Regions from separate parts of the Homo sapiens genome. Here regions 2, 3, 4, 5, 6 and 7 are each linked to region 1. Evidence: promoter capture Hi-C in 16 types of primary human blood cells and fetal thymus (Javierre and others, 2016). All regions are on one chromosome and are shown on one strand. Each heading gives the region's core, a stretch centred on a gene start or on the middle of the fragment in contact. The rest is flanking DNA. Distances are from core to core; before and after follow the strand shown. Region 1 holds the start of DLEU1 (deleted in lymphocytic leukemia 1). Region 2 has its middle 44 kb from the start of DLEU7-AS1. Region 3 has its middle 68 kb from the start of DLEU7-AS1. Region 4 has its middle 130 kb from the start of DLEU1-AS1. Region 5 has its middle 26 kb from the start of DLEU7-AS1. Region 6 overlaps DLEU7 (deleted in lymphocytic leukemia 7). Region 7 has its middle 110 kb from the start of DLEU1-AS1.

Region 1 (4,042 bases), core at 622-3,121:
CAGTTTAAAAGATCAATGACTGACTGACAATAACAAACATTTACTAATATGCCAAGCACTGTTGAAATTCCTTTAATATGTTAGCTCATTTACATCCTTACAACAGTCCAATGAGGTATTAATAGTACTTGTTTTACAAAAGGTCCAACAGATAATTTACCCAACAAGGCACAGCTAGTAAGTAGTGGAGCTGGGATTCACCCAGGCAGCTCGGTTCCAGAGTCGACCCACTTAAGTAGTGCAAAAAAGTACCAGAGATTAAGTAGTGTATTTATACTACTCTGCCACGTTACTTCTTGCTGATCTCAAATTGCTAAAATCCATTTCTTTTCCAAGACACTTAAATAATGCAAACCATGCTACCCTTCTCCCACTTCCTTATTAGTACTTCAGGCACTTTCATATCTACTCTCTTATTTAACATTCACAATGAAGGTTTTAAAATATTTACAACTTTATAGGGCTCCACGCGGTGGCTCACGCCTGTAATCCCAACACTTTGGGAGGCCGAGGCGGGCGGATCGCGAGGTCAAGAGATCGAGACCCTTCTGGCCAACATGGTGAAACCCCGTCTCTATTAAAAGTACAAAAATTAGCTGGGCGTGGTGGCACTTGCCTGTAGTCCCAGCTACTCGGGAGGCTGAGGCAGGAGAATTGCTTGAACCCGGGAGGCGGAGGCTGCAGTGAGCCGAGATCGCGCCACTGCACTCCAGCCTGGCGACAGAGCGAGGCTCCGTCTCAAAAAAAAAAAAAAATTACAACTTTATTATCGTTAATTGTCCTATCAGAGTGCCCATTTTTTTTGAAGGTAGACAGGTTTGCCTAGATATGGTGCTTCTACTTACCAGTTCTAAGACTTTGGGGCAGATTTCTTAATCTGAACCTCAGGTGTCCTCATCTGTAAAGTGAAGATAATACCTACTTCATAAGGCTGTTGTGAGCAATAAACACGATTAATTCGTAAATCATTTATTTAGCACAGTGCCCAGCACACAGTACACAGTCAATACGTGGTAGCTGTCAGTATACCAACGTGTTGCACAACAGAAACTCGTCTTTGCTGGATTCAGTTCACTTATCACGCCATTAAAAAAAAAAATCATCCTAAGTGACACAGAAAAACTGCCCATTCCTATCTCAAAAAGTTTATGAACAAGTTAAGACGGTAAGAGAAACTGAATTCAATGAAAGCGCCTTCGCAACAGGCAGCTTAGGACCGGGAAGAAGGGCTTCAGCAAACTTAATCATTAACTCTAGGCAGGCGCGCGCGCACACACACACACACCGTTGAAGAAGGAGACCACGCCTCCTGTGTGGGCTCAGGTTGAATCGTACAGCGTGGTAGAGAACTCCAGGGCTGCTGAATCTGACAGATGTGGATTCATCCACTTCTGTGCCACCTGTGCTGTCTTGGGCAAATTACTTAACGTCTCTGAGCCTAGGTTTCCTGGTCTTCAAAACGAGAACAGTAATAGTTCCTACCTGGTAAAGTTGTTCCGAGGCTTAAGTGCGATAACCCCTGTAAAGCGCTGGAGAACGGCAAAAGCTCTACAAGCCGGCAGGGCGGTTTTAAATGCACGTGTATCCATATACAAGGTCTCATTGATACATTCCGTTGTTTGGAGTTTAGACACTGGCTGTAAGACGTTTTTCTTTTCTCCTAAGCAGGACCCGTATTTGTTTACCTCCAACGTAGACTAAATGCCTGTGGGCTGGTAGCTATAAGACGACCCCTCGGCCCCACAACCTCTAAGTTCACTTCACCTCCGCGGCTTTGCAAAAGCGCTACACGCACGCGCAAGAAGCAAGAGGACTGCAACCGAAGAAGCAAAGGGAGAGCCGTGCACCACGATGATTCTGCGCATGTGCCTGGCGGGAGGAGGGGGGAGGGTTGGAGTTTGCGCATGCGTAAAAATGTCGGGAAAGCAAGAGAAGGGGGGTTAAGAGGCGGTATTGACAGCTGTGGAGGCAGCCCGCGTTCCCGGCATTCCCTGGGGCGGCGGGGTTGGCTCTAACGAATTTGAATGAGGAGCCTCAGCGCTTTCGGCGCCATTTTCGAGTGATGCCTGATCTCATCAATCTAGCGGGAGAGACAGGATAACCTGTCCGAGAGTATAGCGCCACTATGACTCCGCCGGAAAAATTACTTTAAAAATCGCCAAAAATTACTTGGAGCAAAGGGCAGTCGGCGGAGCTTCGCCAAGGCTGGCGCAGTCGGTAAGAGCCTGAAGAAGTAGCAGAGCGGGACTCGGGAGGTGGCAGTGGTGGGACCCGCAGGCAGTGGTGGGTGCAGGGAGTGGGCGCGGGGTCTACTCTCACTTAATCGCGAAAAATCCGAGGAAGTAGGGTTAGGGGCAACTTGGGCGTCTGCGAGTGGGCGGCGGCGGGCGGAATGTGGCGGGAGCGCGGAGAGACGGGGCTGTGGGGGGAGGGGAGCTGCAGTTTGAGCGGGACGCGGACCGGCTGCGGCGGAGCAGCCGCCGCCCAGCGGATCTGTCAGCAAGACCCCCCGCCCGGGACCGGAGCCGGGGACGGCGCACTGCGGGGTCTCTGCAGGCGGCCGCTCCTTGACAGGAGGACTGGACGCGCGCCCCTCCCCCATTTCCGAACCGGGCCGCCTTTTCTCGCCGTTTTCTCGACCCGGTGATGGCCGTCATCTCGTGACAAGAAACTTAAGGTCGACAGAAAATTCAGGACCCGGAGTCATGGGTCCCTCCGGTGGGTCGTGGCAACAGTCCCCCCCGCCACCGCCCGGCACCCATCTATCTATATTGTCTTTTGACGCTGAAGCGTGAGGTGCCCCAGGAAAGAGTTTCCCAAGCCCTGGCTGCCCTCCCCCGGCGCGCTGGGTCCCGGTGAGGTCTCTAGGTAGGTAGGACTGGCCGCGGCTCGCGCTTCCAAGATGGGGCAGGGGCAGGCTTTTGAGGTTGTAGCGGGCTCTTAGGAAAGATGCTGGACTTTAGCTTCTTTCTGGGGATTTTTGTCATTTGCTCTCGCAGCGTTGTCCTTTCTCAAAGGGGAGGAGTGTTCACGGGTGAGATGAAAGATGGGGCTTCGAGCTAACGATTTCCTTCTCGTGGCTATTTCCTCCGAGTCGCACTTTCTTAGAAGACTTTTTTCTTCTCCGGTGTTTGAAACATGTCGCAAGGAAAAAAGCAATCTGTGAAACTATTAATGTTTTCCTCCCCCAAAAGTCTTTACCCGGACAACTTAACGGTAATTTTGCGATCCCCACCTTTTCTTGACGCTGAGGAGGAGGGACGAGAGTTGTTATTTGTCTTTCCCTTCGGTGATTTTTTTTTTCCCCCTTAGCTGGTGGTTTCTATCAATTCTTACTCCACAGCTCTTGAGTGATGTGAGCCAGTGACGGCATTAACTTTAGGTAATACTTCTATGGCCTTTGTAAAAATCCCGCGTTAAGGATGTATTAGATCTTGAGTTCTTTTCCGCGCTGGAGGCACCACTAGATTAACCCTTTGCCGGTGTATTGCGTGTGGGGCGCACGGCTCTGGGTTGCAAATATTCCGGAGATGCTTTCTGCAGCAGCTATTCTGTTCAGTTGTTCGCAAAGAGGAATAACGCTTCCTGGGAACCGCGGTGACACGCTTCTTTAGGACTGCCTGCCTACAGAGTTTTTCCCCGTGGAATTGATGTAACGATTGATTTATTTCTTATATTCTATGAAGACTGGGGGACCCGCCCTCGCTTAGAATGTTTCCCGGAGGAGAATAGAAGAGTGCAATGTGATGTTTTTCAAATTGTGTCTAACGGAGCTCCCTAAACTCTGGACTTGTTACCCCCTGATTGGCTGGAAGGAAGCGGGCCTGGGGGGTTTGAATGTTGAACGCTAAACTATAATTCTCGACTTTACGAAAAAATATACTTTTAGCCAGAGAACCACGGAAATAGCTACGAAACGTTAGGACGAGAGTTTAGAAAAAAAGTTGGTTTTTAATAGTTTTTTTTCCTCTCAGAAAGGATTTTCGTGTGGTTCTCAAATGTATATTAAAAGTAAAACTGAAGAGGCTGTTTTCGCAAAATT
Region 2 (3,773 bases), core at 816-3,315, 680 kb before region 1:
AGTGAGCCCTGTTGCTTTTACATGACTTAATCAACATAGGTTAATTGGTACATTTTGTGCCAAATCCAGTAGTCATGTTTTATGCTGTGTTGCTCTAGCCAGACAACATCTGTTTGGAAGGGGAATGAAACTTGCTGAGGCAAAGCTACACGCATCCTTTTCTCTCCACCCCACCCCCAACCCTCCTACTAAAGAGTACATTTAAGAAATCTTCTGAAAAAGTCCAAAAGCTAATGTCAAGTAGAAACCACATTAGATGAAATGGGAATTCATCACTAAAAGTGCTTAGAGAAAAAGCATTTGACCCCTTTTGAGCCTCCAAATAATCCACGCAATGCAAGTTTTCTTGGCCTTCACTTGCTGTCTTCTCAACCTTGGTTCTTCCCTGTTGAGTGCCTCCACAACAATGGCCATGTCTCCTTCATCTTCATATTGCTGGCTCCCAGTACAGTGCCTGGCACATGTGAGGGGTTCAAAACTTTTGCTGAACTAAGCTTAACTTTCATTCTAGTGTCATTTTAACATATCTGTGTTCTCGGTGTCTTCTACATTTCTTCTTTCCTCCTTCACATTTCTCCTGGTCTTCTTCCTTTCTATCTGTTTATTTTATTCTCTTCTTTGCCCTTTCTGTCTTTTACTCTTCTCTCCCCCAGGGCCTGATTATTGCCAGAAGAGGACCAAGTTGGGAACCAGAATGTGGAGAAAACAAATTCTTCCAGCCTCTTCCAAACTTCCTTCCCTCCTCTTCTTTCTCCTTCCTCCTCTTCTTTCTCCTTCCTCCTCATTTTCTCTTCCCTTGTCTTCTTCCATTTATCTTCCTTTTTCCTTCCCCTGTCTGCACCCTTCAGGCTTCGCTTTCTAAAGTCCTCCATGTAGAAACATCTTATTAATGTGAAGGATGCAGTGCTATTTGAGTCATTGGAGTAAAAGCCATTTTTCATTTCCTAATAATACCCTGTCTTTAGTGATTCTTAATTTTGAATAAATTCTCCTCTACATCACAAACACAAATTCATTCTAAGGTGCAACATGGCAGTGGCTCATGCCTGTAATCTCAGCACTTTGGGAGGCTGAGATAGGTGGATCACCTGAGGTCAGGAGTTAGAGACCAGCCTGGCCAACAAGGTGAAACCCTGTTTCTACTAAAGATACAAAAATTTACCAGGCATGATGGTGCGTGCCTGTAATCCCAGCTACTTTGGAGGCTGTGGCAGAAGAATTGCTTGAACACAGGATGCAGAAGTTGCAGTGAGCCGAGATTGCCCCACTGCACTCCAGCCTGGGCAACAGAGTGAGACTCTGTCTCAAACAAAACAAAACAAAACAAAACAAACCCAAAAAAGGTGCAACATGACCCATTTAATATACTTCATTCTTCAGTATTCTTAATTAGTGAACACTCTAACTTTATGGATAATTGTTATATCTTCATCAGCATTTCATGGACTATCTGATGGAGTGAACACTCAAGGGATTTGACTCAAGTTCCCTGAACAAGCTAAATGGAATAGTACACTGCCCCTTCATCTCCAAGACAATCCATTGTGTTAATTTGTTCAGTCTTCTATGAATGATGATCAAATGCTTATGAATAACAACTGTGCCAGAAATGACTAAGATTAGGGGTTCATAGATAAGTGTTTTAAGAAACACTTAAAGCCTCTGAACTTATTTAATTCCATTATTCTTTTGACTCACTGCGTTCTCATTGGTAATTCACAGCTTTCTGTATAGCCTAGGTCCTTCGGCCATCCAGAGGTTTTGTTCGTTGTTAGTTAATGACTCCTGGAAATGGGAGGAAGAACACAAAACTTCAGACCAGTTCAGAAAAGATGAGCTTCTGGTGGAACTATATTATTTTTCAGGAAGAAATAATATAGGAGTGGAAGAAGGAAACCAAGACTGTTGAACTCCTTTTATGGAGTTCACAGAAGCAACTATGAATGATTATATGTTATGATGCAACTTGTAATGTGTTAACTCTTTAATTCTCACAAAACACTGTAAGGGAGGAATTCTTATATTATAGATGAAGGAATGGAGACTCAGAGGGGTGAGTGGACTTGTTCAAGATCACAGAGCGCGACAGTGCTGAAACCAGGATTCAAACCCAGGTCTGGCCAAGTCCAAAGCCCATGTGCGTTCTAGTACACTCTACCTGCAGTGCCTTAAATGCAGTGCGGGACTATAAACACAGCCTTTCCGCCTGTCTCTTCTTTAATATTGTCTCTTACTTTGTTTCATCAGTAACAGCACCTCCCATTTTATGGTGCTTTACAGACATTTATCAGGTGTTTTCACAGACACTGTCTCACTTAGTCCCCACAGCAATCCTGGGAAATACTAGTGTTGTTTGCAGTTTACAGATGTGGAAACTGGGATCTGGAGTGATGATGGGGTTGGCTTCTGGTCAGACAGCAAGTCAGTGACGGGGCTGATTCTGAAAGGAAGATGGGGCTGGGCCAGGTCACTGGGAAGCCTGCAGGGCAGATCCGGGAGCTAGGATTGGTAAAAGACATGTCAAAAGGGTCAGGGCAGGAAGGGCAGTGTGGCTGGCTGAGTATTTCATTCAGAGGTGAATTCTATTTTCTGTGAATTGCAGAATTTTCTGACAGTTCTGTTTCCCACTTTGCTGTTTAGGGCACTCACATGATCTCCCTAACTCCTGACTCTGAACATTCTTGCTTCACCCAGGGTCTTGCACTTTTCTTTCTATGTTCATCTTCTTAAAGCATGGTTCATTTTCTTCTTCCATCTGCACAGGCTTGATTTCTGATGCAGGCCCTCATCATGTCTTACTTGAATAACTGCAGAGCAGTCTTCTGATAGGGCTTCCTGTCTTCAGCCAGCTCTCCTGCCCTGCTGTTCACACTAGACTGATTTTCCTAAAATGCAAATGTGATCATAGTTCTCTGCTTAACATTTGTTAGTGGTTCCCAATCTCTTTTAGGACTAGATCCAGCCTCCTTATTACAATGAATGGGATCCTTCATAACTCGAGCCCTCCCCAGCGTCCCCAGGACATCAGTGCCACAGCAGTACCGAGCTGCTGCTTGATCTCACACCCCTCTGCATCTCACACATCATTGTCCCTCTGCGTGCAGTTGGTGATCTCTCCTGCTCTCCTTTAATTAACTGCCAGGCAGCTGCCTTCCCACCTCTCTGGTGTTGTCTCCTTTCCTAAAGACCCAAGCAGACCTAGGGCTACCATTACATATGCACTTGTGGGTCTGCAGGGCACTTTCTCTCCACCAGTTGGAGGCACACTGGTGGGAAGAACTTTATCTTTTCACCTGTGATTCTTTCTCTCCCTGCAACATCCCTTCCTGGATGCAGATCTTTCCTGGATGCAGGGGGACTTTTTGTAATCTTGGGGAGGCGGCTGTTGCTTTTTTTTTTTTTTTTTCTAGCACAATAAAGGGCAGGAGATTAACCTCTTCAGTGTGAGAGTGTGTTTTTGTTGTTTTTTTGTTTTGTTTTGTGGGGTGGCCTGGGGTAGGAAGAGTTCCATTCTTAAACCACCTTGGTGGCATCTTCTCCTTTAATCCCCGCCTTCAAGATGTATACAGCTTCTTTCTTTCTCCTCCATTTAATGTGTTGACACCCATAAAAGTTGTGAAAAGAATGCAAGCTTCCATCAAGTTCAAAGCTATTGGATTTAGATGAAAAAGACATTTGTAGGCCTTGAGAGGCAAAGAAATGCCACCCATAATAGTGAGGCAGCAGCCAGGATAGGTTCCGACCTGGGCTTTACCCTGTTCCGTGAGCACAGC
Region 3 (3,971 bases), core at 410-2,909, 660 kb before region 1:
TATGGGGAATTCTTAAAATATGAGATACGGTCTTGGCTTTCAGGCAGTTTATAATCTGGCTGGGAAACAGCAATAAAACAGGAAAAGTGTAAATGTTGATGTAGATAGAGGTACTGAGCCTTTACTTTGAAACAGTTGTCCTGAAATTTATTTTTGTATAAGAACTCCCCTGGTCAGAGTAGGAAAGCTTGATGAATTGCACATTCCTGGGGCCCAGCCCAAGAGATTTAGATTTTTAGTTTGAGGAAAGAGCTCAATCATCTGCATACTTCCCAAATACCCATGGCTTTCTGATTTAGGTGGTTCATGAGCCATATCTTCAGAATAGATGTTCCAGGTATTTTAATAGATGTATATAAAGCTGGCATTTGAGGAGGAGGATTAGGCATACATCTTCAGGGAATAATTTAGGGGAACTGAGAAGGCCCTTCTCCCCTGCTGCTTCTTCCAAATAACTTTCTAACTCTTCTAATTGGAAAACAAAATAATTCTACAAGTAGAAATGCATCCCTTCTGTTTGGAGCATTGTTCCTAATACAGTAGAAATACGTTGAGAAGAGAAGATTGTTTAGATGTTAGCTTTCAGCTATACCTCAGCTTGGCTGACTTTATTAGATCTTCTCTGAGACAGATTTTGATGGGGAAGCAGGTGGTGGTAGGGACACAGTTGCCCACAGTGTAGAGAGGAGAGGGGCCCAGGATGAACAAGGCTGTTCCAAGTGTTTCTATGAGTTCAGGAAGAATTGAGGATGTAAGGAGGATAATGGAAAAGAAAAGTGTGGCGTACAGAAGGCTTTTCACTTATAAGCAGGAACAGTCCAAAAAGGTTGGGGGTTTCATTTACTCATAAGATCAAAGTAATACTATTAAAATAAGGGTTTTTAATAGAATGGATGCATTTTTGCTTTGGTTCATTTGTTTGCATCTGTGAAAGTTCTTAAGTTGAGAGCTTGTAAATTTATATGTTTCTATATTTGAGACTATCGCCTCATATAGGCTTCCTTTAGAACCATAGACTTCAGAGATTAGCGATAAAAAGGCTTGGGGACCTCTTTGTTCCAGGACAGCAAATAGATTTCAGCTCATGTGTAGTCTTGAGTGGAATGGTAGTGACTGCCTGGTATACTGTTTTGTGAAGTTTTCTGTAAGTGATTAGCAATGCCTGTTCTATCTGTCATGGGAGTAGGCAGAACTCCATTAGTCTAATATCCTAATTTTATGCACACCAGGAAATTGAAATTCAGGTTTAGTCACAGAGAAACTTCAGAAAAGATTAAAAGAAATAAGCCTATGGTTTGTAAGTCTTTGTGTGGACATGGATTTAAATTGACTTGATTTTCTTATTAGGAAAGTTGCCCACAGGATTCCAGATGTTGAAAGAATGGTTTACTGTTACACTATTATGGTTTGAGGTTGTTGTGCATACCGTTTCAGTTTTCATCCTTTTCCCATTTGCCCATCATCAGGATGGAATGTACCAAGGGATCAATAAATAGAAGCCTAAATACTGCAGGAAAAAAATGTGTAAGCACCTTTTTGGAATAAAGCTTTTCAAACATTTTCAGGCTTAAAAGAACTTGAAACATTTAAATTCCTGTCAGGACTAAGGAAATGGAGCAGAAATCAATGAACTAGTGTGTGGTCTCGACAACAAGGCAGGGATCAACTCTCTACACATTCTCTCTCTATATGCCCTACCATTCATTAACCCATTTCTGATTTAATAAAAAAAAAATCTAGGCATCTAGAATCATTTCTTTGGGAAGCTTTACATGCCCCCAACAGGGAGTCTAGTGTCATTATGTATCTAAGCATTTGGCCAAAAGGGACTAGGTAGGGTTGGACTGTGCTGATAAGAAAGTGAGAATTCTCAGGGATCTGGCCACATCCCAGTTTTGGTCTCTTTGGTGTTGTGAGATGTAGCAGAAAAAGAACATTCCCTAGAAACTTTAATTAGAGATATGGCTGGTGAGAGAATTTTTGCAGATTCTCTCTCGTTCCTCTAATCCACCTATTTTTTACAAAAGGTAGTTCATATCTGGTCCCCTCCAGGATAAGCACAAAAGCCTCTTGAGAGTTAAAAAATCAGTCTCAGAAAGTACCTAACACCCATGTCTCTGTTTCTCTTCTCATTCCTTCCCCGTCTGGGTTTTGGCTCAAGGTTTGCCTGTCTCCAGATGGCATTTGCCTTCATCTCCATTCATAACTGAGTGTTAAAGGCCTGCCCTTTGTTCATTCATGGATTCACCTACTAGGCCATGAAGGTCTATTCAGTCAACAAACATTTATTGAATGCCTACTGGGTTACTGTTGGAAACAAGTCAAATTTGGTTCCAGATGATGCAGATCTTCTAATCTGGACCACAATGAAATTTACACAGAAGTGGTATAGTAACAGTTGTGTTCTGTGTCCCAAAGAAGAAAAAAAGGGAAGCAACCCAGCCTGAGAGGTCCGAGAAGAATTTACTGAGAAAGCAGTCTTGTATCTAACTGCTGAAGAATGAGTAGGATTGAGCTAGGTGGGAGGAGAGGAGGAAATAAAGGAAGAGCATTCCTGGTAGGGTAGGTCCCTGGTAAAGCCGCAAGGCAGGAAAGAACATGATAAGAAGAACAGAAATCAGGCCAGTGTGGCCAGTGTTTGTGTGTGTGTGCGTGTGTGTGTGTGTGTGTGTGTGTGTGTGTGTGTGTGTGTGTATTATTTTTTAGAGGCTGCTCACTGGGAGATGTCCAGAATGAGGATAGAGAGGTAGAAAGGGACCAGATCACCTAAGAACTTGTAGATCATGTTAAGAATTTTCAGCTTAAGCTTATGAACATCGCATGAGTTTAAGTAGCCAACACAGTACACCTCAGATACTATCTCTTTCAAGAAACTTTCCCCCATTTTCTTCCAGCATGTTATTTGAAAATACATGATATTCATCTTGTATCACAAATATATAAGTATGGATCTGTCTCCACTATACTATGATCTCATTGTAGGCAAGATTTGTATCTTTTTCATCTTTGTATGATTTGCTGTGTAGGTAGCAGGGTAATGTGGAAAGAGTTTGTTGGCATGGGAAGAACTTTGGAATCAGGCAGGTTCTTGTCATTACACTTTTTCCAATTCCATGACACTAATCATGTACCAAAAGCAGTAGGAGGGCCTACCCTGGGTGCAGGCAATAAGATGTGCATTGCCATTGAGAATTTAAAAACAAGAATAAGTCTGACTGAACGTTGGTCTGCTTTTTATTATCACCATGTACTGGCAATTCTAAACAATGTCAGTGATAAAATACTCCTCTCCCAAAAAATATCTTGTGAGTCTAGGTTTGAAACAATGGCAGTGGTTACTGCTGAGGTTTTTTTCCCAATGTTTTATTATGAAAAATTTCAGACATATAGAAAAGTTGAAATAATTTTATGTTAAGAACTCACCATCTAAATTCTACCATTAACATGTTATACTGCTTCATCTATTAAACTTCATAAACCAACCTCTGCTAGTTCCAAGCATTTCTTCTGCAGCTTTCTTAGCCTTTACAGAATTGAAAAGAGTCAGGGTCTTGCTCTGAGTTAGGCTTTGGCTTAAGGGAATGTTGTGGATGGTTTGATTTACTATCCAGACCATTCAAACTTCCTCCATATCAGCAATAAGCAATCACTTTCTTATCATTCGTGTGTTTACTGGAGTAACACTTTTAAATTGCTTCAGGAATTTTTTTCTTTGCATTCACATCTTGGTTTACAGTTTGGTGCAACTGTAGCTTTTGGCCCATCTTGGGTTTTTACAGGCCTTGCTCACTAAGTTTAATCATGGCTAGCTTTTACTTTAAAGCAAGAGACATCAATTTAAAGGAAGAGAGACATTTTCCTTTCACCTGTACACTTAGAGGCCACTGTAGGGTTACTAATTGGCTTTACTGCAATATTGTTGTGTCTCAGGGAATTAGAGGCCCAAGGAAAGGGAGAGAGATGGGGAATGG
Region 4 (3,739 bases), core at 513-3,012, 570 kb before region 1:
GGCAGTATCTCAAGTAGCCTCATGAACAGAGGCAGCTTACACCTTCAATTGAATTGAATCAATGAACTCACAGGAAACATTCATTAGTTGGAACTGAAAACAATTTTTTTCTAATTATTTTTGGGATTTGGTTCATGAAGATATTTTTGGGAATTGACAAGAAAGCAAATTTATATACAAATATATGTCCTTTCTTTAACTGAAAGAAGTAGGGATGTTCTAAGTGCTTATTAAAAACAAAAAAGCAATAAAAAGATATTCTGCTTCTTCTACTCTGACCTAATTAATTTTAGCTATGTTTTGAGATTGGGCCATCAAAGTAATTATGATATTGAGATAATTTAAATCAAAACTACAATAAAAAGTCTGTTGGGGACAAAATGAACTTGGTCTCTAATGATGTCTATGATGTATATATTGCTTTAGGCCTTTAAAATATTCTTTCATGCCCTAAGGTGTATTTTCTTTTTCTTTTTCTGATGCTGAAGAAACTAACACAGAGCAGTAGTGTCCCACAGCAAATTAGTGGCAGAACGCAGGGTAGACCCAGGGCAGTACACCCTTTACTCTCAGACTCCATACAGCTCTCTTGTAGTATGCTGCTAATTTGCAAATTCTTTGGCGTCACAGAAATCTTTTTTTCAATGAAATTGCATGAGGAAGCCTAATATTTAAAACACACTGGAGCTGCTTGATAATTCCAAGCCAATTTCAATGCTTCCTTCAATTTTCAAAATACCTGCCAAATGGCAAGAGTTTCCAAGCAAACCGATTTTTCCCTACTTCATCTCCAAAAGAAATGGAACTCAAAGATCTTCTAAAAGATGCTTCCACTGCTACGGGCTCCATCACTGCTGATGGGCAGTGTCATCACCCAGGCAGGTTAACACCCAGGGACCTCACACACTTCAGCAGAACCAGAAGATGGGAAGTTCAAATTGTTGTTAGTGAACAGGTAATACTGGGATCAACGGCCTGATGCAGCCCCTATCATCAGTATTCCATCTGGGAATGCCCAAGCACTCTCCAGATATTAGCCTTGCATTCTGGACCATGCAGAAAAATACGAAAAGGGAGACTTGCTGAATCTTCAAGATTCCTAACCTTAACCACTGGATAAGTTAACACATCCTTTCTTAATCTGCCTGTAAGAAGAGGAGGAAAGAAGTTAACCTCATATATTTGAGTGTCTGCTGTACGCAAGGCATCAAGTCTCAACTTGATGATTTCCCTATTTCATTTGACGTTATGAGATGAGGAGTTTTGTTCTCACTTAACAAATGAGGAAATAAGACTTATGAAATATTGGCTTCATACCTTACCAAGATGACTCTGTTACGAGTTGGGATTTGAATCTAGACTAGTCAAATTCCAAAATCCATGTTCCTTCTGCCATTCCTCTGAGCCTTTTACCACTGGTGCCTCTCCTAATCACCAGAAATAAGGCTATTGAGCACGGGTTTTATAACATAAGGTACCTTTTTTATTGTAAAAGCCAGATACCCTTAGTAGACTATATGCACTTTGAGGAGTTCAGATCGTGGTAGACTTTGCTTCAACAAGTGTCTAGTATAGAGAAGGGAATTACTTAGTTTCATCCCCTCTTTTCTAAAGGATAATACTGCCTGCCATTATAATCTGTATTTATAATTACATGCTATACCATGTACCTGCTTGAAAGATATTAATGGACACTAACAATCAAGTTTTCAAAACCTCTTTCCATTTTATTACAGGATAGTTTGTTCTGATAAGACATATGGGCCTGTTCATTTGAGTTTCTTTTGATTAGGAAAAAGAGTTACTCAAATCAAGGACACAGCTATCATTCATATACAGGGAGATTCCTTGACAGGAGAGGAATACAGATTTATAAATATACTAATTGACTTCCCTGTTCTTGAGTTTTCATAACTATGGATGATCCTTTGCATCCGGCCACCCAGAAAACATATCAGAGCTATAATTTCTGAATGTGCTAATGATGAATGTCTCCTCACTGAGTAGCTCTTGCTGGAAGAGTTCCTGAAGGTGCATATCATTTGATCTCTCAATAGCCAGTGCAGTTACCCATACCTAGAAAAAAAGTTTTATTACTTTCAATTTTTAAATAATCTAGACTTTGCTCCATTCTCTGTAGTAACAGTAATATTAGGAGATAGGAGAATGGTCATTTTGCCAATTTCTTAGAAATGCAATTGATTTTTCTCAAAAACTTTACATTGCATTTGGTGTTAGATGACAATATTTAGAGCACTGATATCAAATAATGAGCCTGGAAAATATCTATACACCTATACACCTATACACACAGTTGTTTGAATAAAATGAAATAATTCGTGTTTTCCTGAAAGTGGAGTTTCTCTGGTCGGGAGAGGGATGCTGAAGTTGCCCCAGTCAACCTTTTCTTGCCCCCCTTCTCCTCTCTTCCCCATCTCCACTTCTTGTCCCCAAAGGGGACTCTGCAAAACCAGGTTTGGAAGCCCTTGTCCCAGACCTCCCCATGACTTATTTTTCTTGAAGACACTTCATGGACAATGAAATCATTTTTCTTTTCCCTTTGTTCAAATAGACACATAGCTTTGCTGTACCAAAGCAGCCCCCTGCCCCCCACCCCACACTCCATGTTCCAGAATAGTTTCCATTCAAGGAGCCTGAATTCTGTAGGTGGCCCCAGAAGCCAGGGGAGGGGAGAGGAGTAAAGCTGGAATATCAGCAGATTTTTAATCTTTCAAGACCCCCTTTTTTGTTGCTACAATATTTTCTTTTCTTCTTAAGGAAAATAATTCTTTAGTGAATAATTTTGGTCAATTTAAAAATAATTCTCAATATTACAAAAGAATTTGTGCTTATTGTAACTTAGTACAAATAAAGAATATGCCCACAAATTAAAATTTGGGTTTTAAAAACTTGCAAAAGTCTAGCTATTTTGGAGATATATAGAAGAAGCTGCAACTCCTTGTGGTCAAATATTGCTAATTAGAAGGTTCTGTGATGTTTCAGAAATATGAAAACTCTTATGCTTTGAAGACCATTGGCAGCAGAATAAATTAAAAAAAAACAGACAAAAACAAAACCTGGTAGGGTGGGAGTGGTGGGTGTCTACCTACACAAGGGCAGCCTGAGGCAAGAGGATCTAGCTCAAAAAATATGAAAGCTGAGAGCAGTTTTCCAGATTCTGCAACAATCTTCCCTGCATATTCCCTCCCGCAGCTCCCATCCTCCCTGGAAGCCTGCTGGGACCTGAAACCGTCCAGAGGGAAGGCTACCCCTGCCTAGCTCACTCTGGATGAGAGGGGACAGGGAAATGCCTCCATGGTCCCCATCCCATACTCTTACAATAACAGGTTGCACCAGCAGATCTCAGGAAGTGGAGGGAGTTTGGAACGAGTAAGTTATCACTACAAACAGTTAGAGTATACCAAAGTTTTTAGGTAACATATATAAAAACTCTGAGTGTAGATTCCAATAAGAGGACATCCCTATGATAACAGCTCTTTTGTTCACTAGCATTCTAATTCACTTTCCTGAGCAGGGGAGAAAGTGGTGGGCTTTCAGCTAGCACCTGCAGAATCAGACTTCACTCATGGTCTATTTTATTCATGCAGCAGCCTGCAGTCTTGGCCCGCAGGACTAAGTCACCCGGGGGCACCCCCCACCACATAAGGTTGAGAACTGCAAGGTGATGAGACACCCAGCTGCTGCCCTCTCTGCACACAGGGACTCTGCACTCTCTGAG
Region 5 (4,042 bases), core at 88-2,587, 700 kb before region 1:
TGAGCACATCAATAACCCAAAAAGCAGAAGTGCTTCCAAAGCACTTCAAGTGGACGTTTGATTAACATCTCACAGCTCTAGACATTTGGAAACTCTCTGCATCCAGGTTGCACAGAAATCCATGTGCCTGGCAAAACACAGGGGGCGGGTCGCTGAACTGAAGCTAGAGCTTACGGCTTTGCAAGAGCAAGGGTTGGCAACCTCTTAAAAACAGGGAGTGGTAAGTCTGTGATCTTTGTTCTGGCAGAGCAGTCACAGCACAGGCCTAGAGGGCCTGGCCATATCTCTATATGTGTTCCTTTGGGCGTGGTATGGGCCAGCATGGGGAGAGCCTATGGCAGGGATCAGGGACTGATGGCTGGGGATGGGTGTGTAAAAAAGTGTCTGTTGCTGGAGTAAATTTCAGAGGACTCACCTCAGCTCACCAGTACGTCTCCAGCACTTTGTGTTGAATTTGTGAGCACCTATTTTCTTTATGTTTTACATTCCTGCTACCTGTTTGTGGCAGAGACGCTATTGGCCATCAATCCATCAGCTATAGCCTGTACTTTCTTTTGCTCACAGGACTTCACTGCAGTCACCCTCCTCTGAGAGGTTGTATCGGCTGGGTCCCTCCCCATACTAGGGAGGGAAGCTCCACTGGTCTAAGCTAATCATAGTGGTGTCATTCTAAGTGAATGAAACTACAGAATAATTATAACTTGGAGTGAGATGGTTTGGGGATCAACAAGGCTTCCAGTTGGCCAGAGGGTGGACTCTGTGTAAGATTATGTGTAAGATGACGTAACCTGAAAATATAGATTAGAATCAAGCTATTGGGGTACTTTGAATGATAGGCCAGGAAGTTTAGATTTTGTTCATGTCATTGTTTGGTTCAGATAGTTTATTTGGAAGGCCATCTCTGGGGGCACAAAAGGGAAGAAGTAGGGGAAGTGAGATAGGGAAGGGAGAAACCAATGAAACATTTGTTAAATGAGTGATTTGCTGCTGTGAGCAATGGGAGCTCAGCCCTGCTGGGCCCCCTGAGAAATGGAGAAACACACTTTAGAATCCATCTACCGGAGATAAGGAGACTGAGGAATTCAGCAAGTGATTCCCAACCCCTATTGGTTGAGGTTGCCCTCAGCAGTGTTGACTTTTCCCAACTTCTGGGTTATACCTTTTGTAAAACAAGCTCCCTTGATGCTGGAGAAAACTTTTAGGAAGAATAGAAAAGAGACACACGCCTTTGAAGTGGGAAACTGTCTTGGGAGCTCATGTTGTAGGTGAACGCAGGCTGAGGGGAGGTGGACCCAGGCACCAACAGCATCTGCTACATTCAGTAATTAATGGAAGACACAGAAAATGTTTGAATAGGTAAAGGACATGATTAGAAGTTATCCTGAAGAGTTTTTTTTTTTTTTTTCTGTAGACAGTGTATATGATGGGTGGGAATTCACATTTTTATTCAAAAGACAATTTTGAGTCCTGTGCAATATGCTAGGAATATGGTAAGGAATAAATCTTCTGACTTCAAGAAGCTCACTATATGGAAACTAGGGCTATTTTGTAGAAGATGAGGAGGCTGTGCTAATGGTCAAGTGTGAAATAATGAGGAAGCAAATTAAAGCCATGGCAAGGGAAGGCAGAAAGGATAAAATGGTTGGAGATAAAATTGCAGAGATCAAATGAAGAGGTCGCAATAGCTTCTTGGACAAGGAGGTTGAGAGTGAGGGAGAATTCATAGATGACTAAAGTTTTGGTTATGGCTATTTGAGAATATCACACTGCCAACAACAGAATCTTAGATGCTGAGAAAAGAGCTATATTGGAGGATGGCACAGAGGCTGGGAAAATGATTACCATGGCAAAGACACAACATATGCACATGTCTGATTTCCGTTAGCCATTTATTGGAAATGGCTTTTGTTTCAGGAACCATGCCAGTCACTGTACTAAAGTCTAGTTACAAAGACTAATGAAAAATGATTTTTATTCTCAAGGGACTTACAGACCCTTTGTGAGGGAGGTGGTTTTCTAGATATGTGAGGAGTCATGATCAGACCACTAACGGAGGGAAGAGAGTGTTAAGAAAGGCTTCTTGAAATATATGACATTTGAGCCAAGTTTTTTGGGGGTATGGGGGAAAGAGATAGATGAAATGCTTTTATTCTAGAGGGCAGCCACTATGCATATAAATAAAACCACAGTTTGAATACATATGGAGAAGGACATACTAAATGTTCAAAGATATTCATGGCTTACAGAGCCTAAAAGTGTAGTGGGCTCTTGGCATCAAATTTCAAGATTTTCTGACTTCTAACATAAAATCTTAAAATCAAAGCCATCTATTTTTTAATCTCACAAATATTTGCAAATAAAACAATTCAGTAGAATTTTTTTTTATTTGTTCTATTTCATCTAAGGCAAAATCTTGTCAAAATTATCACAACTTCCTAGTGTTCTGAGCTGAGATGCGAAGGACAGATAGGAGTCTTCCCGGCAAAGACAGGCGTGGTCTAGATCATGGTTGCTATTGATAATTTATGCCACAGATGATAAGGAGCCATAAAAAGGGCTCCAGGTAGGGGAGTGTCACCATCAAATGTGTGTTTTAGGAAGATCCACGAGGCAGTGATGTGGGGAACAAGGGACTGAGGCAGGAAGACCATTTGCAGATGCTCTAGAGCAGCCGTTTTCAAAGTGTCTAGGGATGTTGGCGGTGCTCAAGATCTTCCTGGAGGTCCAGGAGTTCAAAACTATTTTCACAGTTACTAAGATGGTATTTGCTTTTTCACTTTCATTCTCTTACTGGTATACAGTGGAGTTTTCCAGAGGCGAAGTGACATGTGATGACAGCATTTCTCTGATGGCTGGTCAAATGTGCTTCGCTATTTTTGTGTGTTTTAAACATTCCTTTCTACTTTCTAGTTAATTTCTAAAGTGGCCTATGTCCAATATGGTAAATATTGATTGGTACAACCCTCATGAACAAAAGCACTTTGAGATTCTCAACAATTACTGAGTGTATAGAGGTTTTAGTACCAACAAGTCTGAGAACCACTGCTTTATAGATATTTACCAACTTGATTTAGAAAAATAGCCATTTAAGGAAGGCAGGCAGAAATTCTCCAGTTATTTGGGTAAGAAAATGCAGGCAGAAAATCAGAACATGTTTGATTGATTGCTTGAGCAAACCCAAGGATAGATGGACAGATGGATGGATTGGGAACTCATCTGAAGAAAGCCAGTGTTTGAGTGCTGGCTCTGGGAGGGAGGAATGGAAACCTATCTGGCAGAACAGGGGAAACGAGCGGAGACAGGAAGGCGAGATATCACACTTACTGACTCCCAGCCTGTTCTCTGCCTGGCCACAGACTCTGATTGCCCCTTCTGCATTTGCACACTCACAGATTCCATCTCTGTGAGATTGACCACAGGCCTTCTCCACCTCCCTCTGCCCTGTGCCGTACCTCGTTTCTGTGGGAACCCTTTTGGGAAAGGACCAATGATGACTTTACTTTTTGGACTGAGTTTATTTCACTTCAGCAACTATGTAGCCTGAGGATGGTATTCTCCCTCCACCCCAATTCCACATAAGGCAAATGACTGCATTCTCACAGAGGCAAAGAGCACATATATTTCTCCAGAAACGTAGTAATTGTTAAAGCTGGTTTTATGAGGGCTCCTTAGCTGTAATCTGATTCCCACATGATAATGTGTTGCAAATTACTAGTAAATGCTGTTTTCAGAAGTCTGCAAACTGATATTTGCTCTCAACAAATGAGTCGTTAGTAAAAAACAAAATGACCCTTCACATTCGTGAATGCCAATAAATCCAGGTTTTAAATCAAAAAGTCCTTGGTGAAATACATTTGGTGGACTCAATTTGCTACAACGCACAGAGCAGTAATCTGTGGCATGCAGAAACTGCTATCTAGGAATGATTCAGACAGAGGTGTTTTTACTCCTAGGGTGAACTTCTAGACCATACTATCCTGGAATGAGGGGGGCTGCAGCACTGCTCAGGGGCTCCACCATGGCTGTACTCGTAAGCCTACCA
Region 6 (3,748 bases), core at 401-2,900, 750 kb before region 1:
TTCACTTGTAGGCATTTTGTTCCATCCCCAAAACTGGTTTAGTGCTTCTCCCACTTGCTTCCAAGAAGCCCCTGTCACCCCACCGGAGCAGCTACAGCTCTATAATTCCTGCCAGTCTTGTCTCCCACACTACATGGCTGAGCTTGGCTCTGTGAGCCATTACTGCACCTGGCATCATTTGGGATCTGGGCCGAGTCTGATGAGTGAGTTCTGAAATAGAGGAGTTAATTTTTTTTATTATACTTTAAGTTCTGTGCAGAATGTGCAGGTTTGTTACATAGGTATACACGTGCCATGGTGGTTTGCTGCATCCATCAACCCATCATCTACATTAGGTATTTCTCCTAATGCTATCCCTCCCCTAGCCCCCCACCCCCCTACAGGCCCCGGTATGTGATATGCCCCTCCCTGTGTACATGTGGTCTCATTGTTCAACTCCCACTTATGAGTGAGAACATGCAGTGTTTGGTTTTCTGTTCCTGTGTTAGTTTGCTAACAATGATGGCTTCATGGCTTCATCCATGTCCCTGCAAAGGACATGAACTCATCCTTTTTTATGGCTGCATAGTATTCCATGGTGCATATGTGCCACATTTTCTTTATCCAGTCTATCATTGATGGGCATTTGGGTTGGTTCCAAGTCTTTGCTATTGTGAATAGTGCTGCAATAAACATACATGTGCATGTGTGTTTATAGTAGAATGACCTATAATCCTTTGGGTGTATAACCAGTAATGGGATTGCTGGGTCTAATGGTATTTCTGGTTCTAGATCCTTGAGGAATCACCACACTGTCTTCCACAATGGTTGAACTAATTTACACTCCCACCAACAGTGTAAAAGCATTCCTATTTCTCCACATACTCTCCCGCATATGTTGTTTCCTGACTTTTTAATGATCTCCGTTCTACCTGGCATGAGATGGTATTTCATTATGGTTTTGATTTGCGTTTCTCTAATGACCAGTGATGATGAGTTTTTTTTTTTTGCATATGTTTGTTTGCCACACAAATGTCTTCTTTTGAGAAGTGTCTGTTCATATCCTTTTCCCACTTTTTGATGGGGTTGTTTTTTTCTTGTAAATTTGTTTAAGTTCCTTGTAGATTGTGGATATTAGCCCTTTGTTGGATGGATAGATTGCAAAAATTTTCTCCCATTTGTAGGTTGCCTGTTCACTCTGATGATAGTTTCTTTTGCTGTGCAGAAGCTCTTTAGTTTAATTAGATCCTATTTATCAATTTTGGCTTTTGTTGCCATTTTTTTTGTGTGTTTTAGTCATGAAGTCTTTGCCCATGCCTATGTCCTGAATGGTATTGTCTAGGTTTTCTTCTAGGGTTTTTATGGTTTTAGGTCTTACATTTAAGTCTTTAATCCATCTTGAGGTAATTTTTGTATAAGCTGTAAGGAAGGGGTCCAGTTTCAGTTTTTGGCATATGGCTAGTCAGTTTTCCCAACACTATTTTTTAAATAGGGAATCCTTTCCCCATTGTTTGTTTTTGTCAGGTTTGTCAAAGATCAGATGGTTGTAGATGTGTGGCATTATTTCTGAGGCCTCTGTTCTGTTCCATTTGTCTATATATCTGTTTTGGTACCAGTACCATGCTGTTTTGATTACTGTAGCCTTGTAGTATAGTTTGAAGTCAGGTAGTGTGATGCCTCCAGCTTTGTTCTTTTGGCTTAGGATTGTCTTGGCTATGCAGGCTCTTTTCGGTTCCATATGAAATTTAAAGTAGATTTTTCTAATTCTGTGAAGAAAGTCAATGGTAGCTTGATGGGAATAGCATTGAATCTATAAATTACCTTGGGCAGTATGACCATTTTCACAATATTCATTCTTCCTATCCATGAGCATGGAATGTTTTTCCATTTCTTTATGTCCTCTCTTATTTCCTTGAGCAGTGGTTTGTAGTTCTCATTGAAGAGGTCCTTCACATCCCTTGTAATTTGTATTCCTTGGTATTTTATTCTCTTTGTTGCAATTGTGAATGGGAGTTCACTCATGATTTGGCTCTCTGTTATTGGTGTATAAGAATGCTTGTGATTTTTGCACATTGATTTTGTATCCTGAGACTTTGCTGAAGTTGCTTATCAGCTTAAGGAGATTTTGGGCTGAGATGATGGGGTTTTCTAAATATACAATCATGTCATCTGCAAACAGAGGCAATTTGACTTCCTCTCTTCCTGTTTGAATACGCTTTATTTCTTTCTCTTGCGTGATTGCCCTGGCCAGAACTTCCAATACTATGTTGAATAGGAGTGGTGAGAGAGGGTGTCCTTGTCTTGTGCTGGTTTTCAAAGGGAATGCTTCCAGCTTTTGCCCATTCAGCATGATATTGGCTGTGGGTTTGTCATAAATAGCTCTTATAATTTTGAGATATGTTTTATCAATACCTAGTTTCTTAAGAGTTTTTAGCATGAAGGGCTGTTGAATTTTATCGAAGGACTTTTGTGCATCTGTTGAGATAATCATGTGGTTTTTGCCATTGGTTCTGTTTGTGTATGGATTACATTTATTGATTTGCATATGTTGAACACTCCTTAGCAAAGGCAAAAGAACGGAAATCATACAAACAGTCTCTCAGACCACAGTGCAATCAAATTACAACTCAGGATTAAGAAACTCACTCAGAACCGCACAACTACATGGAAACTGAACAACTGGCTCCTGAATGACTGCTGGGTAAATAACGAAATTAAGGCAGAAATAAATAAGTTCTTTGAAACCAATGAGAACAAAGATACAATGTACCAGAATCTCTGGGACGCAGCTAAAGTAGTGTTTAGAGGGAAATTTATAGCACTAAATGCCCATAGGAGAAGGTGGGAAAGATCTAATATCGACACCCTAATATCACAATTAAAAGAACTAGAGAAGCAAGAGCAAACAACTTCAAAAGCTAGCAGAAGATAGTAAATAACTACAATTAGAGCAGAACTGAAGGAGATAGAGACATGAAAAACCTTTCAAAAAATCAATGAATCCAGGAGCTGGTTTTTTGAAAAGATTAACAAAATAGACTGCTAGCCAGATTAATAAAGGAGAAAAGAGAGAAGAATCAAATAGACACAATAAAAATGATAAAGGGGCTATCACCACTGATCCCAAAGAAATACAAACTACCATCAGAGAATACTATAAACACCTCTGTGCAAATAAGCTAGAAATTCTAGAAGAAAATTGATAAATTCCTAGACACATATACCCTCCCAAGACCAAACCATGAAGAAGTCGAATCCCTGAATAGATCAATATTAAGTTCTGAAATTGAGGCAGTAATTAATAACCTACCAACTAAAAAAAGCCCAGGACCAGATGGATTCACAGTTGAATTCCACCAGAGGTACAAAGAGGAGCTGATACCATTCCTTCTGTAACTATTCCAAATCGTAGAAAAAGAGAGACTCCTCCTAACTCATTTTATGAGGCCAGCATCATCCTGATACCAAAACCTGGCAGAGACAAAAGAAAAAAAGAAAATTTCAGGCCAATATCCCTGATGAACATCAATGCGAAAATCCTCAGTAAAATACTGGCAAACTGAATCCAGTAGCACATCAAAAAGTTTACCCACCACGATCAATTCTGCTTCAACCCTGGCAGAAGTTAATTTTAACTCTGTCACTAACTTGCTGTGTTACTTAGCTACATCACGTACTCTCCCCAAGCCACATTTCTTTTCATCTATCATGGATTGTGGTGAGCACTGAGTGAGACAAAGTATAGAATGAGTCAAGCTTGCAGTCTGGT
Region 7 (3,636 bases), core at 50-2,549, 550 kb before region 1:
GCATTAATCACCCTTTTTCACCCTAAGTGACCAAATAACTGATCTGAGGAAGCACCCAGGAGGCTTGGGATATACTCCTGATTGTCATTAGTTACCACATGACTTACGACCGGCACTCAATTTATTTGGTCCTCAGTTACCACATTGGTACAATGAGAATAGCTTCAGGTTCTAAACATGACAATGATTCTATTCTAACTCGTGGTGTTGTGAATTGGTGCAAGGGGTGGGTAACCAGCAGCGAGCAGACTGAAACTCACAAATAGGTCCGCAGGTGATGTGTCCTTTCTTGTGTTGGCATCCCCAGAGAGGCGGACTATGGCCAGAGCAGCGACAAACACACTGAGGGGCCTTGCGGCAAGGGAGACATCCCACTTCCTGTTGTTTTCCATCGTTATAGGAGTGGGGTCTGTCTCTGAATTACAGCCTCTTGGTGTGAGAGCAGTCTGAGAAAATCAATATTTTGGGCTCAGCTACTAAGCTGCCTGAGCTTAGGTTCTAGCTGTTTAGGGGATTGCTAGGAAATGCCAGAGGCTCAGCACCTGGAGGCTTTAGGGGTCCTAAACCTGTGGGAAGTTAGTTTGAGACAGCCACTCCCACTGGAGAAAGGAATGTCCCTGGTCCTATGAGAACTTGTAGCCTCTCCTAGGAGAGGTGGGGCTTTCAGGCTACCTTGGTTGCCAGGCAACCCAGAGAAAGCTCTCAGGCCAGGGTAATTTACATACTCATTCTGCTTGTCTCCACAATTAGGTATCTATGTGGGTAATTTACTTAAACAAAGTTTGACATTTATTCATATTGTTACCAAGCAAAAGGCCTTGCTGCCTGAAGTGCTAGAAACCAATACTATGACACTGGGGTTTTGAGAAAATAAAAGCTTTTTATTGTAGGTCGACCAACAAGGGGACAGAAGTTCAGCTCAAATCTGTCTCCTTGTGCTGACTTTAAGGCAGTATTTTTATTAGAAAAGGGTTAGGGGTGGATTCTGAGATTAACTGGTGATTGGTGGAAGGAAAGGGGAGATCCAGAAAATCCTTGGCACACACAGTTATCTCTGCACGCTTCCTCATGGGTCACATGTTGCAAATTTGGGGGAAGTTAGTGTGAAACATGCAGTGGAAATTTGGGTTGTGACATCAGCAAGCTCGTTCTGCACTGACTCCATTTGGCCATATTGGTTCCAACTGATTTCAGCTAGGTTTGTTATGTTGCAAGCAGAGGGAGTTTCCGCATTTCAGCAAGTTTTTTCTTTTCTTATCTAGTCACTGGTTTCTTTAACTGTTTGGGTCACAGTTTCAATAATACAAAATGTCTTGAGTTTCTAGCATGAGAGAGGAACAAGAGACACAGCAATGAAGAGGCCAGATGGCTCATGGAATTTTCATTCTAGACTATGACATCTCCAAAGTGTCTATAATTTTCTATTCATTTCCCTATGTTTGCTGTAATGCTTTGCCCTAAAGATACAAAAGGGTATGGATTCTTCACTGCATTTTCTCTTATCTCTATCTCTCTGTAACATTTCTTCTTCTGTAAAGGGAACAGATTGGAATTGACAGACTCTAAGGATCTTTTCAGGGCAGAAGTCTTGTTATATGAACGTTACGGTAATTAAAAAGACACCTGGGAAAGAGTCATATGAAAACTGAACTCAGAAGGAGAGCCCTAGGTGGAGGACAATGGGGAACTGGAATTTCTTTGCCCTGATTTCAGAAGCTTCCAGTTGTTTCTGAGATAGCTCTTGAAAAATTGCTGTTAACCTGGTACTCTCTAGTCATAAACATGCTCAGACTTAGGAAGTAGAGTCACAGATGAGGTTCCACAAAATTATAGCGATGCGGGATAGGATACAGGCATGTCAAGACAATGTGACTTTGAAAAGATGATAAGGCCTTTAAGGCCTGGAAGCACCTGATGTGACCAGATCAGAAGGTAATCTTTGGAAATTGAATCCTATCTTATATATCTGTGTTTCTCCCCCATTGATTTTCCTTGAGAATTAATTAAATTCTGAGAGTGCTCTCAGCCTATCACAGCTATGCTAAAGGGAGCCAATGATATTATTCCTACTCAGATTAACTGGGGCATACAATTTTATATTTTGAGGTAAAAGCAAGGCTCTCCACCCCACAGCATCCCAAAGTGCCATGGTCAGCCTCTGCACTCCTGTTAGAGTTTACTCTATACTCTCCAGACCAGGAGCCCCCAACCCCAGGGCCACAGACTGGTACTGGTCTGTGGCCTGTTAGGAACTGGGCCACACAGCAGGAGGTGAGTGACAGGTGAGTGAGAGAAGCTTCATCTGTATTTACAGCTGCTCCTCATAGCTTGCATTACCACCTGAGCCCTGACTCCTGTCAGATCAGCAGGCAGCATTAGATTCTCATAGGAGTGCAAACCCTATTGTGAACTGTGTATGCGAGGGATCTCGGTTGCATGCTCCTCATGAGAGTCTAATGCCTGATGATCTGTCACTGTCTCCCATCACCCCGACATGGGACCACCTAGTTGCAGGAAAACAAGCTCAGGGCTCCCACTGATTCTACATTATGTCAGATTGTATAATTGTTTCATTATATATCACAATGTAATAATAATGGAAATAAAGTGTACAATAAACCAGAATGCACTTGAATCATCCTGAAACCATCTCCCCACCCCGGGTCCATGGAAAAATTGCCTTCCACGAAACTGGCCCCTGGTGCCAAAAAGGCTGGAGACTGCTGCTCTAGATACTCTCTCACTTGAACATATAGAATTATCAGATGGGGCAACTCTGCTCTACCAGGACAGGTTTCCCAAACTCCAAATGCAGAGAAGGAATGGCTGGGGGTCTAGAATCTTTTCCCTCACAAGACTTCAGAACTCTTTCTGCAAACTTCTTCACTTCGTCTCTGAGCTTTGTGTACTAACAGAAAACTAAGGTGATGGAAAAGGGCAAGGAACTAAGACAGGTGACAGAAAAGGGCAAACAGCGTGTGCTCACCTTGCACTTGCTCAACTGAGAAGGTTCAGCCAAGGGACTCATGAAGAACAGAAGGTATCTAACCCAAAGTGGCTTTTGACTTTTCCTAGACTGAAAGGAGCTGGCAACTCCACCAGCTAAACATGGATTTAGGCACAGACTCATCATCCAGCATTCTGTCACCCACTCCAGGGCCTGACCAGCACACTTAAGGAGGTTCCATGGAAGTGACCAGGGTGTGGAGAAAAAGCAGAGTGGAAGGCAGAGTGGGTGCTGGACCAGCTGGTCTCTAGACTGCAGAGCTATGAGACTTCCTGGCAGTCTTAAGTCTTAGAGCATTGGCGTTTCATTTCATTTAGAGGCCGACTTCTTCCACATCATCTTCAGAAACAGGAAAGGAAGCTGGGCACTGTGGCTTATACCTGTAATCCCAGATGCTCAGGAGGTTGAGGCAGGAGGATCACTTGAGGCCAGGAGTTTGAGACCACCCTGAGCACATAGCAAGACCCCATCTCTATTTTACACACACACACACACACACACACACACACACACACTAAAAATAAACTTCAAATATTAAAAATGGGAAAGGATTGTGTTCTCTTTACTCTCTCTGTCATCTCTGACTACATTATACTTTTATAATTAGTGAACCACAAAATAATCACATA

The links. The method cuts DNA at HindIII sites, captures the fragments that hold promoters and counts their contacts. A CHiCAGO score of 5 or more calls a contact.
Region 2: a contact is called between a fragment that was not itself captured here and the fragment with the promoter of DLEU1 in region 1, in 2 of 17 cell types (naive B cells and total B cells). The highest score is 9.4, in naive B cells.
Region 3: a fragment that was not itself captured here is called in contact with the fragment with the promoter of DLEU1 in region 1 in 1 of 17 cell types (total B cells); the score reaches 5.2 in total B cells.
Region 4: a fragment that was not itself captured here is called in contact with the fragment with the promoter of DLEU1 in region 1 in 1 of 17 cell types (fetal thymus); the score reaches 5.9 in fetal thymus.
Region 5: a fragment that was not itself captured here is called in contact with the fragment with the promoter of DLEU1 in region 1 in 6 of 17 cell types (total B cells, megakaryocytes, erythroblasts and 3 more); the score reaches 9.6 in total B cells.
Region 6: a contact is called between a fragment that was not itself captured here and the fragment with the promoter of DLEU1 in region 1, in 1 of 17 cell types (fetal thymus). The highest score is 8.9, in fetal thymus.
Region 7: a fragment that was not itself captured here is called in contact with the fragment with the promoter of DLEU1 in region 1 in 2 of 17 cell types (total B cells and naive B cells); the score reaches 8.8 in total B cells.

The regions. Positions count from the first base shown.
Region 1 is chr13:50,079,998-50,084,039 of GRCh38, reverse strand. It overlaps DLEU1 (deleted in lymphocytic leukemia 1), which reads right to left and starts at 1,871. Exons shown (of 7, transcript NR_109974.1): 1 at 1,483-1,871; 2 at 846-898. All of the region lies in intron 1 of DLEU2 (deleted in lymphocytic leukemia 2), which reads left to right. RefSeq lists enhancers at 947-1,742, 3,360-3,419 and silencers at 1,900-1,949, 2,350-2,569, 2,433-2,727. The HindIII fragment of the contact is 5,734 bases long and covers 1-4,042 here.
Region 2 is chr13:50,762,434-50,766,206 of GRCh38, reverse strand. It overlaps a transcript of DLEU7 not described here. Among named protein-coding and RNA genes, the nearest start is that of DLEU7-AS1, 44 kb to the left of the region's middle. The HindIII fragment of the contact is 3,137 bases long and covers 497-3,633 here.
Region 3 is chr13:50,737,686-50,741,656 of GRCh38, reverse strand. It overlaps a transcript of DLEU7 not described here. Among named protein-coding and RNA genes, the nearest start is that of DLEU7-AS1, 68 kb to the left of the region's middle. The HindIII fragment of the contact is 219 bases long and covers 1,550-1,768 here.
Region 4 is chr13:50,652,048-50,655,786 of GRCh38, reverse strand. No RefSeq gene overlaps it. Among named protein-coding and RNA genes, the nearest start is that of DLEU1-AS1, 130 kb to the right of the region's middle. The HindIII fragment of the contact is 6,749 bases long and covers 1-3,739 here.
Region 5 is chr13:50,780,138-50,784,179 of GRCh38, reverse strand. It overlaps a transcript of DLEU7 not described here. Among named protein-coding and RNA genes, the nearest start is that of DLEU7-AS1, 26 kb to the left of the region's middle. The HindIII fragment of the contact is 5,542 bases long and covers 1-4,042 here.
Region 6 is chr13:50,831,672-50,835,419 of GRCh38, reverse strand. The region is part of intron 1 of DLEU7 (deleted in lymphocytic leukemia 7); the gene reads left to right. The region is part of intron 3 of DLEU7-AS1 (DLEU7 antisense RNA 1); the gene reads right to left. Among named protein-coding and RNA genes, the nearest start is that of DLEU7, 10 kb to the left of the region's middle. The HindIII fragment of the contact is 4,175 bases long and covers 1-3,737 here.
Region 7 is chr13:50,633,217-50,636,852 of GRCh38, reverse strand. No RefSeq gene overlaps it. Among named protein-coding and RNA genes, the nearest start is that of DLEU1-AS1, 110 kb to the right of the region's middle. RefSeq lists enhancers at 486-780, 1,177-1,376 and a silencer at 486-780. The HindIII fragment of the contact is 839 bases long and covers 880-1,718 here.